Linked DNA regions of Homo sapiens: region 1 is linked to region 2. The links are contacts of gene promoters, found by promoter capture Hi-C in blood cells and fetal thymus (Javierre and others, 2016). All regions are on one chromosome and are shown on one strand. The core of a region is centred on a gene start or on the middle of the fragment in contact, and the rest is flanking DNA. Distances in the headings are between cores, read along the strand shown. Region 1 overlaps DTNB (dystrobrevin beta). Region 2 holds the start of DNMT3A (DNA methyltransferase 3 alpha).

What was found. Contacts are between HindIII fragments. The CHiCAGO score rates a contact against its expected background, and 5 or more counts as called.
Region 1: a fragment that was not itself captured here is called in contact with the fragment with the promoter of DNMT3A in region 2 in 1 of 17 cell types (M1 macrophages); the score reaches 5.2 in M1 macrophages.

What each region holds. Positions count from the first base shown.
Region 1 is chr2:25,637,480-25,641,263 of GRCh38, forward strand. It overlaps DTNB (dystrobrevin beta), which reads right to left. Exons shown (of 21, transcript NM_021907.5): 3 at 1,535-1,615. Among named protein-coding and RNA genes, the nearest start is that of DTNB, 34 kb to the right of the region's middle. The HindIII fragment of the contact is 244 bases long and covers 1,158-1,401 here.
Region 2 is chr2:25,340,049-25,343,945 of GRCh38, forward strand. DNMT3A (DNA methyltransferase 3 alpha) reads right to left here and starts at 1,877. Exons shown (of 23, transcript NM_022552.5): 1 at 1,778-1,877. RefSeq lists silencers at 600-719, 1,000-1,239, 1,340-1,509, 1,800-2,009, 2,070-2,549 and an enhancer at 2,670-2,789. The HindIII fragment of the contact is 8,821 bases long and covers 640-3,897 here.

The sequences.
Region 1 (3,784 bases), core at 30-2,529, 300 kb after region 2:
AGAATCTACAAAGAACTTAAACAAATTTACAAGAAAAAATCAAACAACCCCATCAAAAAGTGGGCGAAGGATATGAACAGACACTTCTCAAAAGAAAACATTTATGCAGCCAACAGACACATGAAAAAATGCTCATCATCACTGGCCATGAGAGAAATGCAAATCAAAACCACAATGAGATACCATCTCATGCCAGTTAGAATGGCAATCATTAAAAAGTCAGGAAACAACAGGTGCTGGAGAGGATGTGGAGAAATAGGAACACTTTTACGCTGCTGGTGGGACTGTAAACTAGTTCAACCATTGTGGAAGACAGTGTGGCGATTCCTCAAGGATCTAGAACTAGAAATACCATTTGACCCAGCAATCCCATTACTGGGTATATACCCAAAGGATTATAAATCAGGCTGCTATAAAGACACATGCACACGTATGTTTATTGCAGCACTATTCACAACAGCAAAGACTTGGAACCAACTCAAATGCCCATCAATGATAGACTGGATTAAGAAAATGTGGCACATATACACCATGGAATACTATGCAGCCATAAAAAAGGATGAGTTCATGTCCTTTGTAGGGACATGGATGAAGCTGGAAGTCATCATTCTCAGCAAACTATCGCAAGGACAGAAAAGTGAACACCACATGTTCTCACTCACTGGTGGGAATTGAACAATGAGAACACTTGGACACAGGAAGGGGAATATCACACACCGGGGCCTGTCATGGGATGGCAGGAGGGGGAGGGATAGCATTAGGAGATATACCTAATGTAAATGACGAGTTAATGGGTGCAGCACACCAACATGGCACATGTATACATATGTAACAAACCTGCACGTTGTGCACATGTACCCTAGAACTTAAAGTATAATAAAAAATAAATAAATAAAAACTAAAACCAAGGTTTTTCAATTCTAAGGTTAATGCTCTTTCCATTGTATAAAATACTTTTTCCACTGATACACACAAACACGAGAAAAGTACAATAATTCTGTCACGAGCTAGTTCATCTTCATGGAAATAAAGAGAAGAAAGATTAAGTATATACACACACAGACATACATATACATATATACAGACACACACACACTTTATTTTATGATCCACATGGTAGCAATTATTTATAGAAAAGGTTGATTCATGTTACATTAAGCTTAATGAAGAAAATCAATTCCAATTATACCTTTATCAAAAACATTGTTTTTCTTTTCCTCCAGCAGCTGATAAATTGTATTAATTTTACATAAAGCATTTCCTTAATAAAAGTGACAGAGAAATCCATTCTCCCATTTAAAGAACATTAATACTACAACAGCCTCAAAACTAGTTACATGACTGAGTTTGTTAAACATTTTGAAGGACAAAGAAGTAAAATGACAAGTTCTTCCATTACAAAGCTTACATACTAATAAATACTTAAGACAAAAATAATTCAATTAACATTACAATACAACTAAAAGATGTTAAAGTCTTTTCTAATATTGAGAACTCTATCCAGCTATCACAGAAATGAGTAGAAATGACTCACGGTTGCATCGTTTTTGTACAAATCGTAATTTGCAGGCTGTTCTGTAAGTTGATAGTCGTATGACATCAAAATTCTGAGCACCTGAAAAAAGGCAAACAGAAATGCTCAACTAGATTTACCATTTAGTTTCCAAACGCTAGGAAATGACTCCATTCTATTGTATTGTCATAGTATACCAGTCAGCTAGGACTTCTTAAAAACGGTGGGTCAATTAAAACAACAACAGAGGGAGAAAAGGATAGGAAACACGTGCATCTCCAGTATGTGCAGGAACTCTGCTAGTCTAGCTCCTGATATCCTGTCTGCTCATCGGAGAAAACTCCAGGGGGAGGAACACTTATGAGGTGAGTGAGTGAACTATGATTAGGAAAGGGGAGTAGGGCAGCATCGTGAGAAAGACCCAAGCCTAGAGTCAGAAAAGCTGCATTCCTGTCCCAGCCTGACCAACCACAGAATACGACTGTGGCCATGCCCCGTGGCTGTGGCCATGCGGCGTGCCTCTGCACATAAGTGTCCTCATTTGGGAAATGAGGGAACGGACCGGTTGCCTGAAAGGTCCCCTTCCAGTCTGTGGCAGCCTGTATTTTCCAAAAAAAAAAAAAAGCCACAACAATATTTTCAGAACAGTATTTTATGTACTTCTAGTATGTTGTCCCTCTCCATCAAGGTCTAGAGATTCTTTCCTTCCATGTGAATCTGACCAGGACACTGTGACGGCCTCGCGGCACAGAATGCGGCAGAAGTACAGTGCGGGACTTCTGGAGATAGATGATAACAGACGGCATAGCTTGCTCTGCTCTTGCTCTTCCGGGATGCTTGTGCTGGGAGCCCAGATGCCATACCGTGAGAAAGCCCAGACTGATGTGGAGAGGCCACAGTGAGAAGATCGTACGAAGAAGAACTGAGTCCACCAACCAAACCAGCATCGACTGCCAAACGCGCAGGCGAGCGAGCCTTCAAATGATTCAAGCCCTAAGCCTTTGAGTCTTCTGCTGAGACCTCAGGCATCATGAAGCAAAGTCAAGATGTCAGCACTGAACGCTGTTCTGAGTCTAGACCCACAAAACGCATAAATAGAATGACTGTTTGAGGGGTAAGCGATATATGGCCAGAGTAACTAGAACAAAGCCTAAAATTATACATGAGTCTATAAATCACATTTTGTTCTCATTTTAATTGCTGCAAATGAAGTCTCCTTGAATTTTAAGACCACTGTAGATAGGATTGGCCCCCAATGTGAGATTTCACCTATCCTTCCTTTATAAAATTTGGCAGCAAGTTTTGACTCAATAAGGGGACAGAGAACTGGCACAAATTATCTTGTATCAGTATTTATAGGCATCTCTCATTTGTCTTCATTACACGGTATGGAGGCGGGGGGTGGAGGGGGTTAAAGGAAGGATTTTTCCAGGTTTTTGGTTTTTGTATACTGAACAAAAAGTGAAGGTTTATCTTAGTCTGACTTCAATCAACCTTCCTCCTGATGTCATGATTAAAATTATTTCCTCAGGGGATACCTGGTTCTCACAAAATATTTATCCCTCTCTCTCTCTGTATTATACAGTCCCACTTTCTCTTTTTAAATATAAAAGCTTTATTAAAATATAATTCAAAGTCCAGATGCAGTAGCTCACACCTGTAATCTCAGTACTTTGGGGGGCTGAGGTAGGAGGATCAGTTGAGCCCAGCAGTTTAAAACCAGCCTTTTTTTGGCCAGGCGCGGTGGCTCATGCCTGTAATCCCAGCACTTTGGGAGGCTGAGGCGGGCGGATCACAAGGTCAGGAGATCAAGACCATCCTGACTAACATGGTGAAACCCCGTCTCTACTAAAAATACAAAAAATTAGCCGGGTGAGGTGGTGGGCGCCTGTAGTCCCAGCTACTCGGGAGGCTGAGGCAGGAGAATGGCACGAACCCGGGAGGCGGAGCTTGCAGTGAGCCAAGATTTGGGTACCACAAAAGATAAAATACAGCAAGTATCACAAAAGTCCAAAGATAACTATAATACTTTCGGAAAATGATAAGCTCCATACGCTCCAGCCAAGTTTGCCAGAGATCTCTACACTGAAGTTTCAGGTACAGTCACGAATCAAGGGTCACTCTGCTTTCCTTTGCCATTGTTCCTTATGAACATGCATCACCATAAAGCCCAGTGGAAAAAGGGTACAGAGATTAGTAGGATGGCACACAATTCAGAAACTCTAGGGAGCCGTGCCACAACAGCATTTTAGAAATCTAATAACACTCCAA
Region 2 (3,897 bases), core at 627-3,126:
CACAGGGCGGACAGCGCTTCTCCCCAAGGCTTCTGTCCCCGCTGGTTTGGAGGGGGGGTAGCTGCGCGGCCCTGGGGCTCGGCCCTGCCCACCCTCCCGCCTGCCGCAGGCCAGAGCTGCCCTGCTGGGTGCCAGACGCCATGTTGGGTCAAGGTGCAGCCGCAGGGGGCTCCCCTCAGGAGCCGGGGGAGGCAGCCCCTGGGAACCAGAGGGCACTGCTCCCCGCCCAGGGCGCCAACACCTCCTCAACTGGCCGTGCAGCGGAGAGAGGGTGCCAGGACGGAGGGGATGAGGAGAGGGGGAGAAATGGCAGAGGGGCGCTGGGGTGGGAGAGGGTGCCCCCAAGAAGGGAGGCTTCAGGAAAGCGAAAAGCAGTTTGGCAGCCCCAGGGCCGCGGGCCCCAGCGATGAGGGGCTGGGGGAGGCCAGGGGCGGGCCCTGGACCCGCGCCAGCCCGGTCCGCGCCGAAGGGGAGGGAAGGCAGGGCGGCCTGGGGGAGGGGAACTGGGGTGAGGGCGGGACACGGACAGCCGCCGCCTGCGGCTCCGAAGCTCGAGGTCTCCCGGGGTGCGGGGACGTGGGGCCGAAGACCCCGCTCCGCAGCCGCGGCGAGGCCTCGTCCTTCACTGTGCAGATGCGAAGCTTTCAAGGACACGTCTGCACCGGCCCGGCGGGGTGCGTGTGCGTGAGTGTGTCCGCGTGCGTGGGAGTGTGCGCGGGGGTGCTGGAGGGGCGACCCCGGGCGTACCCCCCCTGCGCCGCTCCCGGTCCCGGCCCCGCTACTTCCACCCCCGCGTTTTCCGGCCCCCGCGGCCCGGGCCCGGGCCCGGGATCCTCGCCCGCCCCCGCCCCGCCCCCACATTGCGGCGCCGCCACCGCGGCCGCCCGGGCACCCACGGCCCGCGGTGGGGACAGGGAGGAGCCGGGCACGACCACCCCTCTCCGTGCCGCCGGCACTCCGGGGGAAGGTGTGCCCCCAAGGCGGGCGCTCTCCCCGGCCCCGCCGCCCCTCCCGGCCCCGCCGGCGCCCCGCACCCCCAGCCACAGGTGGCCGGAGGAGGATCGCGGCGCGGCGCTCCCCGGCCCGGCCCCGCCATCACCCCTCGGCCCGCCCCCGGGGGCCTCCCGGGTCCCCCGCCCCGCGGGGCCGAGGAGGGCCGGGCGCCGGGGGGAGGGGCGGGGGGCCGGGTCGTGCCAGGCTGCCATTTTCTGCCGCCGCCGCGGAGCCTGCGCGGGGCCCGGCCCCCGCCCCCTCCCCCGCTCCCCCGGGCCGCCGCGGGGGCCGATCCTTCTGGGTCGGGGTCCGCGCCCTCCGGCGCCCTGGCCGCGGGCTCCAGGCGGGGCCGCGGGGCTGGGGCAGAGCCCGGAAGGCGGGGGCGGCCCGGCCGGGGCCCCTGCGGCAGCGGCGAGCCGGGCACCGCGGCGCAGGCCGGCGGTGGAGGGGCCCCCCGCGGCATTGTATAGACTTGAACTTGAGCCCGGAGCCGGGCGGGGGCGGGGAGGGGGGTCCGCGCCGGGAGCGGGCGGGACGGGAGGGGGCGCCTGCCGAGCCCGCGGGGACATAAACAAACCCTCAAATCCCCCGCGCCGCCCCGGCCAGCCCGGCCCGCCGTCCCCGCCTGCAGTCCCGGCCCCACGGGCGCCCGGCGCCGAGTTGCAGGGGTCCGGGAGCGTGCCCCGAGCCGGGCACTGCCAGCCGCGGCGCCCCCCGCCCGGCTCCCCGGCTCCCCGCCGCCTCCGGGCCGGCCTTCCGGGCCGCCAGCAGCGGCGCTCATTACCGTATGGCCGGTGGGGTCGGGCCGGCCCGGCTGCGCGCCCTGGTGCCGCGGCGCCGCGTCCCGGCTCGTCCTCTGCTCTCGCCGCCGCCGCCGCCCGCGCGCCCTCCCTCCCTCCCGGCCCGCCTGCCTGCCTCGCTCGCTCGCTCCCTCCCTCCGCTCGCTGTCGCGCTCCCTCTCTCCGCCTCCTCCGCCGGGTCCCCCCCTCCCACCCCTTCTCTCCGCCTTCCTCCTTCCCTCCCTCCGGCCGCCCGCGGGCCCAGGCCTCCGCCCGCCGCTCGCCCCCCGCGGCCGCGCTGGCCCCGGCCCCGGCGCTGCGGAGCCGGCCCGGGAGGCAGCGCCGACTGGGGGGCCCCGGGGCGCCGCGGCGGGAGCGGCCTGGGCGCGCGGCCGGTCCTAGCGCCCTCGGCGCGACTTCCCGGCCTCTGCGGCCCCGCCGGGGTCCCCGCACGCCGCTTGGCGGAGGTCTGGACCCCGCACCGCCCAGACCGGGGGCCGGGCCCCGGGCGCCCCGCCTCGGCCGCGCTCCCGGCCACTCAGAGCCCCTCGAGTCGTAGCCGAGCTCCGGGCCTCGCCGCAGCCCTCCCCACGCTGGGCGCCCCGCTACCTGGCGCTGCTTCTGCGCTGGGTCCCCGCATCCAGCACTGGCCGCAGGGACAGCGGCCCCTCCTCTCCCCGGGCCGGTGTCAAGTGCCTCCCCCCGCAGCCCGCGGAGCCCCCGGCGGCCTTCGCCCTGCAGTTCTCCCGACCTCCGCCAGAGCCCACTGCGCTCTGCCTGCCTCAGCACTGGGGCTGGGGACAGCAGCGCTGGCCCAACCGCGCCGCAACCCCCAGCCAGGTGCCGCCGCGGAGTAGAGGCCACTCTGCTCTACAGGGCCAAGGTCGGAGCGCCAGGCTCCTCCTGGCCGTCCCGCAGGCTCCAAAGCCTCTCTGAGATGAGCTGCCTTGAAGGGAGTGAGTTCCCCGTACCTTGAGGTGTCCAAGTAGAGTTGGGTGTCCTCAGTTGGGCACTGGAAGACTGAAAGATTTCATGAGGTGGGAGGTTGAATGAAATGACATTGAAGGTCTCTTCCAGCTGGAAGATTCTGTGTGTGCCTACACACCGCCCTCACCCCTTCACCGTGGGGGCTGTTCTCCTTCCCCATGGAGCGCTCAGGGCTCTAGGTTCCTGACTTGGGGCACCTCTGTCTAATTCCACCAGCACAGCCACTCACTATGTGCTCATCTCACTCCTCCAGCAGCCGCTGTAGGACTTGGGGCTGGGCACCCCCCCACCCCCGCCTCCAGCCTCCTTGCGCGCCCCAGCACCCCACCAGCCACCCGCAGCTCTGCACCCCGAATTCTACTCAGCACTTCAGCTATATCACAGTGCCCTGAGCTCCCTGACTGGCACAGGACATGGCGTGCTCCCTTCCCAGGGACCCGCCATCCTACTTGTGGGCAGGGATTGCTGGAGTTGGTGGTGGGACTCACTTCACAGTGAAGCGGATCCTACTTTTCCCTTCTCCCCATGCAGCCCAGCACCCGCCCCCCCAACGCCACCCTTTTAGCGTCACAGAACCGAGTTGCCAAGTTCTCTGGGACCGGGAGCTGACCTTTCATACAGACGGGAAGGTTTTCCTTCGGGAGGTTCTCCAATGCTTCCAGGTCCCTCCGTCTCCCCAACCCCCACCCTGAGCCTCGATATCTGAGACCAGCTTCTAGGCCATAGTTCTGGCCGTTTTCAGTGTCACCCTCACTCAAGTGGCCACCCCGCCCTACTGATGATAGGCCCTGCTGTCCATGGTCCCCACCGGCCCAGAGACTCCCAGTGCTCTGTGAGGACAGGGGCCGCGTCTGTCATCCCTGTAGCCCAGCACTTGGTGCTAGGAGATTCTCAGTAAACCTTGGTGGAATTAACATGTGACCCTCCTGGGCTGTTCGCTTTCTACATCAGGAGGGGCATCCGTGAACACTCTAAATGGCGCACCCAGCTTGGCAAAGGAGAAGACCGTTTATAGAAGGATGACTGAGATACCTCTGCCTTCATCAAGGGCTTACATATAACACGGCCCCAAACAGCAGCGACTGTTTACTGAGTGTCTACTATGTGCCAGGCACCAGACATGGTATTTTCTCTAGTC